3 separate regions of the Homo sapiens genome follow, and all the other regions are linked to region 2. The links are contacts of gene promoters, found by promoter capture Hi-C in blood cells and fetal thymus (Javierre and others, 2016). All regions are on one chromosome and are shown on one strand. The core of a region is centred on a gene start or on the middle of the fragment in contact, and the rest is flanking DNA. Distances in the headings are between cores, read along the strand shown.

The links. The method cuts DNA at HindIII sites, captures the fragments that hold promoters and counts their contacts. A CHiCAGO score of 5 or more calls a contact.
Region 1: a fragment that was not itself captured here is called in contact with the fragment with the promoter of ZNF30 in region 2 in 5 of 17 cell types (erythroblasts, M1 macrophages, megakaryocytes and 2 more); the score reaches 7.4 in erythroblasts.
Region 3: a contact is called between a fragment that was not itself captured here and the fragment with the promoter of ZNF30 in region 2, in 5 of 17 cell types (erythroblasts, megakaryocytes, naive CD4 T cells and 2 more). The highest score is 8.9, in erythroblasts.

What each region holds. Positions count from the first base shown.
Region 1 is chr19:34,660,234-34,662,933 of GRCh38, reverse strand. All of the region lies in intron 1 of SCGB2B2 (secretoglobin family 2B member 2), which reads left to right. It also overlaps the pseudogene ZNF807P and the pseudogene SCGB1B2P. Among named protein-coding and RNA genes, the nearest start is that of SCGB2B2, 16 kb to the left of the region's middle. The HindIII fragment of the contact is 170 bases long and covers 1,213-1,382 here.
Region 2 is chr19:34,925,466-34,928,165 of GRCh38, reverse strand. ZNF30 (zinc finger protein 30) reads right to left here and starts at 1,263. Exons shown (of 5, transcript NM_194325.3): 1 at 950-1,263. It overlaps ZNF30-AS1 (ZNF30 antisense RNA 1), which reads left to right and starts at 1,340. Exons shown (of 3, transcript NR_110749.1): 1 at 1,340-1,437. The HindIII fragment of the contact is 20,354 bases long and covers 1-2,700 here.
Region 3 is chr19:34,639,169-34,641,868 of GRCh38, reverse strand. All of the region lies in intron 1 of SCGB2B2 (secretoglobin family 2B member 2), which reads left to right. It also overlaps the pseudogene ZNF807P and the pseudogene SCGB1B2P. Among named protein-coding and RNA genes, the nearest start is that of SCGB2B2, 37 kb to the left of the region's middle. The HindIII fragment of the contact is 225 bases long and covers 1,138-1,362 here.

The DNA of each region.
Region 1 (2,700 bases), core at 48-2,547, 270 kb after region 2:
TTGGAGACAGGGTCTCTCTCAGCCGCCCAGGCTAAAGTACAGTGGCATGATCTCGGTTCACTGCAGCCTCAACCTCCTGAGCTCAAGCGATCCTCCTGTTTCAGCCTCCTGAGTAGCTGGAACTACAGGCACATACCACTGTGCCTGGCTAATTTTTGTATTTTCAGTAGAGACGGATTTCACCATGTTGCCCAGGCTGGTCTTGAACTCCTGTGCCTTGGCCTCCCAATGTGCTAAAGGAGTTCTTTATATTTTCTTGATAAGAGCCCTTGTTTGGTTATTTGTGGGAAATGTGTTCCCCAACACTGTGGATCAGCTTTGTATTTTCCTTATGGTTTTTAATGAGCAGAAGTTTAAAGTTTAATATAATTAAATTTATCAATGTTATACTTTATGCTTCATGTTGTGTGTGTGTGTGTGTGTGTGTGTTGTTTAAAAAACATTTTTATCTCTTTATTGTTATTTTTAATATGGTTTTATTCCTTTGGAAAAAAGATTCTCATGTCATGGTCATAAAGATATTCTTCTACATAAAGATTTGTAAAGTCTTTATTGTTTTGGATTGCCCATTGAGGTCTCTAAAGTACATGGAATGGACTTTTACGTGAAGTGTGGGTAAGAACTCCCTTTCTTTTTAATTATATAGATTCCCTGCTGTCCCAGTTTAGGACAGGGTTGTGTAATCTTTTGGCTTCCACGGGCCACACTGAAAGAAGAAGAATTGTTTTGGGTCACACATAAAATACACTAACATGGCCCGGCGCGGTGGCTCACACCTGTAATCCCAGCACTTTGGGAGGCCAAGGCAGGTGGATTACGAGATCAAGAGATTAAGACCATTCTGGCCAACATGGTGAAAGCTCCTCTCCACTAAAAATACAAAAAAATTAGCTTGGAGTGGTGGCACACACATGTAGTCCTAGCTACTTGGGAGGCTGAGGCAGGAGAATTGCTTGAACCTGGGAGGCAGAGGTTACGATGAGCCGAGATCAGGCCACTGCACTCCAGCCTGGTGACAGAGCAAGACTCCATCTCAAAAAAATTAAATTAAATTAAAAAAAAATACACTAACACTAACAATAGCTAATGAGCTAAAAAAAAAAATCACAGAAAAACTCATAATGTTTTTAAAAAGTTTACAAATTTGTGTTGGGCCACATTCAAAGCTGTCCTGGGCTGCATGGGGCCTGCAGGCCGCAGGTTGGACAAGCTTGGTTTAAGAGAAGATGGCCCTTATTCCATTATTCTCAGTGTCCCTTTTGTCAACAACCAAGTGCCCCATAGAGGGACATAGTTTGCTTCTGGGTTCCCTATTTCATGTCGCTGGTCTCTTTGTCTGTCTCTATGCCAGTGTGGCACTGCGTTGAGTACACACTAAAGCTTTACTTAGTTCTTGACTCTGGCAGAGGGAGTCCTTCTACTTTGGCCTTGTTCCTAGAATGTCTTTGCTGGTTTTGGCCCTCTACAGTGCCAGATGTTTAGAAACAGCTTTTTGAATTCAATTTGGAGAGAACTGAAATTTTGATAATATTGAATATTCCTCTCCATAACACTGGTACATGTTGCCATTTATTTTGGTCTCCCTTATTTTATCACAATAATTTTTTACATATGTATTTCTTTTTTTTAATGTCATTGCACGTTTATTTATTTATTTTTTTATTATACTTTGAGTTCTAGGGTACATGTGCATAACATGCAGGTTTGTTACATAGGTATACATGTGCCATGTTGGTTTACTGCACCCATCAACTCATCGCCTACATTAAGTATTTCTCCTAATGGTATCCCTACCCCAGCCCCCCACCCCCGACAGGCCCCGACATGTGATATTCCCTGCCCTGTGTCCATGTGTTCTCATTGTTCAACTCCCACCTATGAGTGAGAATATGTGGTGTTTGGCTTTCTGTCCTTGTGATAATTTGCTGAGAATGATGGTTTCCAGCTTCATCCATGTCCCTGCAAAGGACATGCACTCATCCATTCTTATGGCTGCATAGTATTCCATGGTGTATATGTGCCACATTTTCTTAATCCATTCTATCATTGATGGACATTTGGGTTGGTTCCAAGTCTTTGCTATTGTGAATAGTGCTGCAATAAACATATGTGTACATGTGTCTTTATAGTAGAGTGATTTATAATTCTTTGGGTATATACCCAGTAAAGGGATCGCTGGGTCAAATGGTATTTCTAGTTCTAGATCCTTGAGGAATCGCCACACTGTCTTCCACAATGGTTGAACTAATTTACTCTTCAACCAACAATGTAAAAGCATTCCTATTTCTCCACATCCTCTCCAACATCTGTTGTTTCCTGATTTTTAATGATCGCCATTCTAACTGGTATCTCACTGTGGTTTTGATTTGCATTTCTCTGATGACCAGTGATGATGAGCATTTTTTCATATATCTGTTGGCTGCATAAATGTCTTCTTTTGAGAAGTGTCTGGTCATATCCTTTGCCCACTTTTTGATGGGGTTGTTTGCTTTTTTCTTGTAAATTTGTTTAAGTTCTTTGTAGATTCTGGATATTAGCCCTTTGTCAGATGGGTAGATTACGAAAATTTTCTCCAATTCTGTAGGTTGCTTGTTCACTCTGATGATAGTTTCTTTTGCTGTGCAGAAGCTCTTTAGTTCAATTAGATCCCATTTGTCTATTTTGGCTTTTGTTGCCATTGCTTTTGGTGTTTCAGTCATA
Region 2 (2,700 bases), core at 14-2,513:
TGCCATCTCCACTCACTGCAACCTCCGCCGCCTCCCAGCTTCAAGCACTTCTCCCACCTCCGCCTCTCAAGTAGCTGTGACTACAAGCGCACGCCACCATGCCTGGCTAATTTTTATATTTTTAGTAGAGACGGGGTTTCACCATGTTGCCATGTTGGTGGTCTCGAACTCCTGAGCTCAGGCAATCCACCCGCCTCAGCTTCCCAAAGTGCTGGGATTACAGGCATGAGCCATGGCACCCGACCTGTTTCCACTTTTTACTTAAAACGTAAGTTTCTCTGGCATGCTTTCTTTTAATTCTAACTAAAAAATTAAGAGCAACTCTTCTTTAAAAACAAACAAATAAAAAACCAACAGAAAAGATTCTCTGACATTTCAATTTCCTCTGTCCCCTAGCAGCTAGAGAGAGAGAGCTACTGCTGTGGGATAATGCAAAATTGAAGAACCTTAAGAAAAAGCTGGGTCCTATTTCTGTGCAATATGGAGATTGATGGAAATGTTTACAGCTGTCATCTTGCTCTCCTTTCTTACATAATTTTGTCATTAGTTAAGTAATCTGCACAACAGATCCTTTGAAGTCCTTTTCCCTGCACTGATAATTTTCAGATGACATTGCTCTCATCTTTAAAAGGTGTAAATACTTTATACAGTTTTTTCCAAACAAGAAGAGGCTTCCTGGCAATCCCATTTCTTCCCGCTGCATGCAAAAGGTATCATAACTATCGTTTCCTTTTTAAACTGAGAGTTGAAGAGTCTTTTGCTCCTTTACATAAATCAATTACAGTGATTTTATCCAAAATAGTAACAAATATTAATAGCTCAGGTTCGCATGGAGGCCATGCACCCAGTCTTCGCGGATGCACACCGGCCCCGGCCGACGCACCCTCCCTGCCCTGCCGCTCCCGCACTCGCCGGCCCGGGATCCTCGCCCGGTCCACCCAACGCTCACGCATGTCTCAGTCCGGGTTCCGCGCCGACACAGGTCTGCAGAGCTCCCGGTGCTGTGTTCGTTTGCAGAAATTCAAGTTGCCCGGCGGGGCTGCTCCAACCTCGGAGCTGGGCGCTGACTTCTCCCTCGATGAACTCCAAAGCTCGCTGCCGGGTCAACGACCACAATGAACTGGCGAGGAGGCAGAGATTGAGGTCGTTCCAGTGGCCGCTGAGAAATGTAGTTTCAGGCTACATTGGCCGGATAGCTGCAGCCTCTGGGAAATGCAGTCCTGAGCCGTCACACCGCCGAGCATGCCCGGCGCAGTCCACAAGGCCGCCCACCGGCGCCCGGAGACTTCTGGGCGCTCCCGTCCGGCTGAGAATGCGCAGGCGCAGGCGCTCGAGTTGCTGGGAGCCATAGACCTCGAAGCTGGGGCGTCTGACACCTGAGGCCCGAAGTAGGTGGCCAGCTTCTTAGAGGGCCAACCCAGGGCATTAACACACCAGGTCAGAAAAAGCAAAAACAAAAACAAACAAAAAATGATAATCTATACCAAAATATGTTATTACTTTAACACAAAAATATGAAAACTAGGTGTTTGAAATTATCTTTCCGTACTGTTTGCTTTTCGCTACAGAAATGCTATTATTTAACAGAATATTAATAGGATTAATAGTGGCAATTAGACTAATCACGTGTGAGAAAAATATATTTCTGTCCTCTGATACAGGAATTTTAAGTTTCTATTAAATATTTAAATTTTGTGGGTTCTATCTAAGATGCTAAATGTAAGACCTTTTAAAAGGAGAATGTAAATAAGGCTAATCAAACAGATATTAACTATATGTAATAGGCATTTATCTTTCTGTCCCATCATACGTTTAGGAGATATTTACTCTTTCTGGTTCCTTTTCCAGTAACACCTCTCTGTATTAGCTGCCTGTAGCCTTTATGGCATTCTTCTTTTGGTTTATGTAATGCTAAAACTGAATACAGGCAAACGTGAAATTCACCTTGACTGTCAGCTCCGCTTTTTGTTTGTTTTGTTTTTGTTTTGTTTTGAGACAGGGTCTCCCTCTGTCGCTCAGACTGGAATGCAGTGGCGCTATCTCGGCTTACTGTAACCTCTGCCTCCCAGGTTCAAGTGATTCTCCCACCTCGGCCTCCAGAGTAGCTGAGACTACAGGGGCGCGCCACTACACCTGGCTAATTTTTGTATATTTTTTGTAGAAATGGGGTTTTGCCATCTTGCCCAGGCTAGTCTCGAACTCCTGGGCTCAAGCGATCCACCCGCCTCAGCCTCCCAAAGTGCTGGGATGACAGGGTGAGCCACCGCGGCCAGCCGAGCTCTGTTCTTATTAAGCCCACATTACAGTGATTCCTGGAGTCAGTCCAGGGTGATGACATTGATAAGGAGGTGGGGAAGGGGAGTGCTGGGGAGGGAAGGGCGGGGTCCCTTTAAATGATATGGAAGGGGGAAAGGGAGGTGCTGGGTACAGGAGGGTGTGGTCCCTGGCTAGGGCTCCACCCCTGGCCCTGTGCCAACTGACCTAGGTGAGGGCAGGCATTTTTGTTTTCCTGCCCAAATGTTGCGTTTCCCAAGACCACCCTGGCCTGCCACGCCCCCATCCTGTTCCCGCCCCCATCCTGTCCCTATAAATACTCTGAGACCCTAGCAAGCAGACACACAAGCCGCTGGACATCCAGAGGAACATGTTGGCGGAAGAAGACATGACAGACGCTGGCACGCGGGCAGGCCACCCACCAGA
Region 3 (2,700 bases), core at 1-2,500, 290 kb after region 2:
ATCTTTCCTAGATCTAGACTAGGAAAGATCTAGCAGGGTCCCTTCAAAATATGTCAAAGAAATATATTTTTGGGGTAAAATGATTTCTCTTAACTGGTCCTTGTTTCTAGTGCTGGAACTTGACTTTCTGCAGCTGCAGGAGTTTTAGTCGACATAAGAGGGGCCAAGAGTTGGTCAAACCTAACAGAAGATCAACCAAAACTAGAAATAGAAAAGGTGATCACCCAATTTACATACTGTCAAGATCTTTGAGCATAAAGAGAAGTTATAGCCATCTGGCAAACGACCTTGACCTTCCGCTACCAAATTCCAAAACGAAACTCCAAACCAGCTCCACGAGGACTCAAGATATGGAGACAGCCTCAGGCCAAATTTAGTTCAATTTGCCAATTCCCCACTTTGGGTCAGCCATTGGATTTTGACATAGTGACCAAAACCCTGGGCATTGACACTGTCTGTCACCATTGTATTAGACTTACTTGGCCTCAGCACGGAATTCACAAGTCATGATGTCAGATCAGTTAAATAATTGTATTCTTGCTGATCTAGCCAAAGGGAGACCATTCAGTGCACAATGGATGTCTGCATACACACATTTAAGATTTGACAGGATACAGTGCACCAGGGGGACTATTACGATGACTACCAGAAAATAATACCAAGAGACCAAAGTGTACTCCTTCACAGGAGGCCCTATGAACAAAACCAGTCAAAACCAAACAAGTCAAAGTCCAGGCATATAAGCAGCTCAATAGTATTTGAGTCCAATTGGTCATAATCTTTGTTTGGGGTGTGATGGTGATTAAGTATTCACCATCACACCCCGAATATATTCAATAATAAGTCAGGTTGCTGGGCTAGGGCATTAATAGTACCTATAAAGAAGGAAAAATTGAGAAGGGGAGACCTCAAATTAGTTTCCTTAGGAGATATAACCAAGTGGTGATAACTTCACTTTCCCAACCTTTTTAAAGTTGTATGAGCTCTAAGTCCCTGCATTTATAATTTCACATCTGGAAAAAAATAATAATAAAGAGGTATCAGTTTATGTCATTAGCCTGGTACTGTAAGTCATAGTAACCTGGAGACCCACCAGAAAAAAACATAAAGATTCAAAAACCCTGGAAAAGCTAAGCTTGCCATTCATGAAAAGTTTTGGACATCGATAGTGGTGATGGTGGCACAACATCGTGAATGTACTTAATGCCACTGAACTATACACTTAACATAGTTAAAATGATTAACTTCATGCTATGTATATTTTACCAGAGTTAAAAAAAATTTTTTTTCTTCATCTATTGAAATTTTCTTCATGTATTTGATAAAAGTATCTAAAGAAATAGCCACCTTTTAAATTAAGCTTTCCATAGTAGCAAAATCAGGGGAAGTGTAGATACAGCACTCAGTTTGATTCAGCACAAGTCCCCAACATGATCAAAATGATGTAAAGCTGCATGAGGCTGGGTGCAGGGGCTCACACCTGTAATCCCAGTACTTTGGGAGGCCAAGATGAGAGGATCACTTGAGCCCAGGAGTTTGAGACCAGCCTGGGCAACATAGGGAGACCCTGTCTCTATTTAAAAAAAAAAAGAGAAATTAAAAATTAGCCAGGTCTGGTGCACACCTGTGATCCCAGATACTCAGGAGGCTGAGGTGGGGGGATCCCTTGAGTCCAGGAGGTCGAGGCTGCAGTGAGCCCCACTGTATTCCCACCTGGGTGACACAGCAAGACCTTATCTCAAATAAATTAAGCTGCATGATATTCTATTAAGTGTTTTGTTAGATGCATAGGTTATCATCTACCTTTTGGAGGGTGGCTTCTACTGAACCACTGGAAGGTTTGGTTGGCCATAAAGTCCAAGATTTTCCCCAATTTATGGATCTGTTCTGAATTCCACACTACCAGCACCCTACTACCACCAAGAGCAAGCCCTCAGGAACCCCACTGGAACCTTTCCTCAGTAGAAACTAGCTTATCTTAGTCTCTTTCAAGGCCGATGATCATTTTGTTTACTGTTTTGGCCTCTGATTATGGAAGGTATTATGGGAACTGTCAGAGGAAGCTATTCAAAAGGCAGGAGTGAGACCCATCAAAGAGCAAGATCTAAACCAGTGAAGAGGAAGAAAGGGTAAGCAAATTCTCTGCGGACCCAAGATAGGTCCTCAAGCATTGGAAAAGAGCGCCTCCTGGTGGTGTTTGAGCAGAAGTAAGTTAAATTTGACCTGTAAGCCTGATGGCTCCTGAACAAAGTTCAGTGGGAAAATTCTTTGTGGTCCCTTTACAGCATGCTGTTAAGGTGTATAACCACATGAAGAAGGACCCTACTGGATTTGTTCTGGTGACATTATATAGCAATTACTTATGATACTATGCACGAATAGCCTGCATACATAGTCCCCAGATCTTGAGTATGTGATGCCTGGAAGCATAATACATCTTTTGCAGGCATCACTCGAATGTGTTTTCTATATTTGGTAGTGATTAGGTTACTAATTGGAAAGGTTAGGATATTGTTTCCAGCAAGTGTAGGAAAACAAGTGGTAGTGATGTCTAGAATATCAAGATAGCTTTCTGTTCTTCCTTTGGAGCGTCAGGGTGAATTGGGAACACAGGGAGGCATTGGCATTTGTGAAATTGCTTCTTGAGTTTTTGGCATTAACCCACAAGCCCAAGGATTACTCAAGTTTTTTGCTACAGAA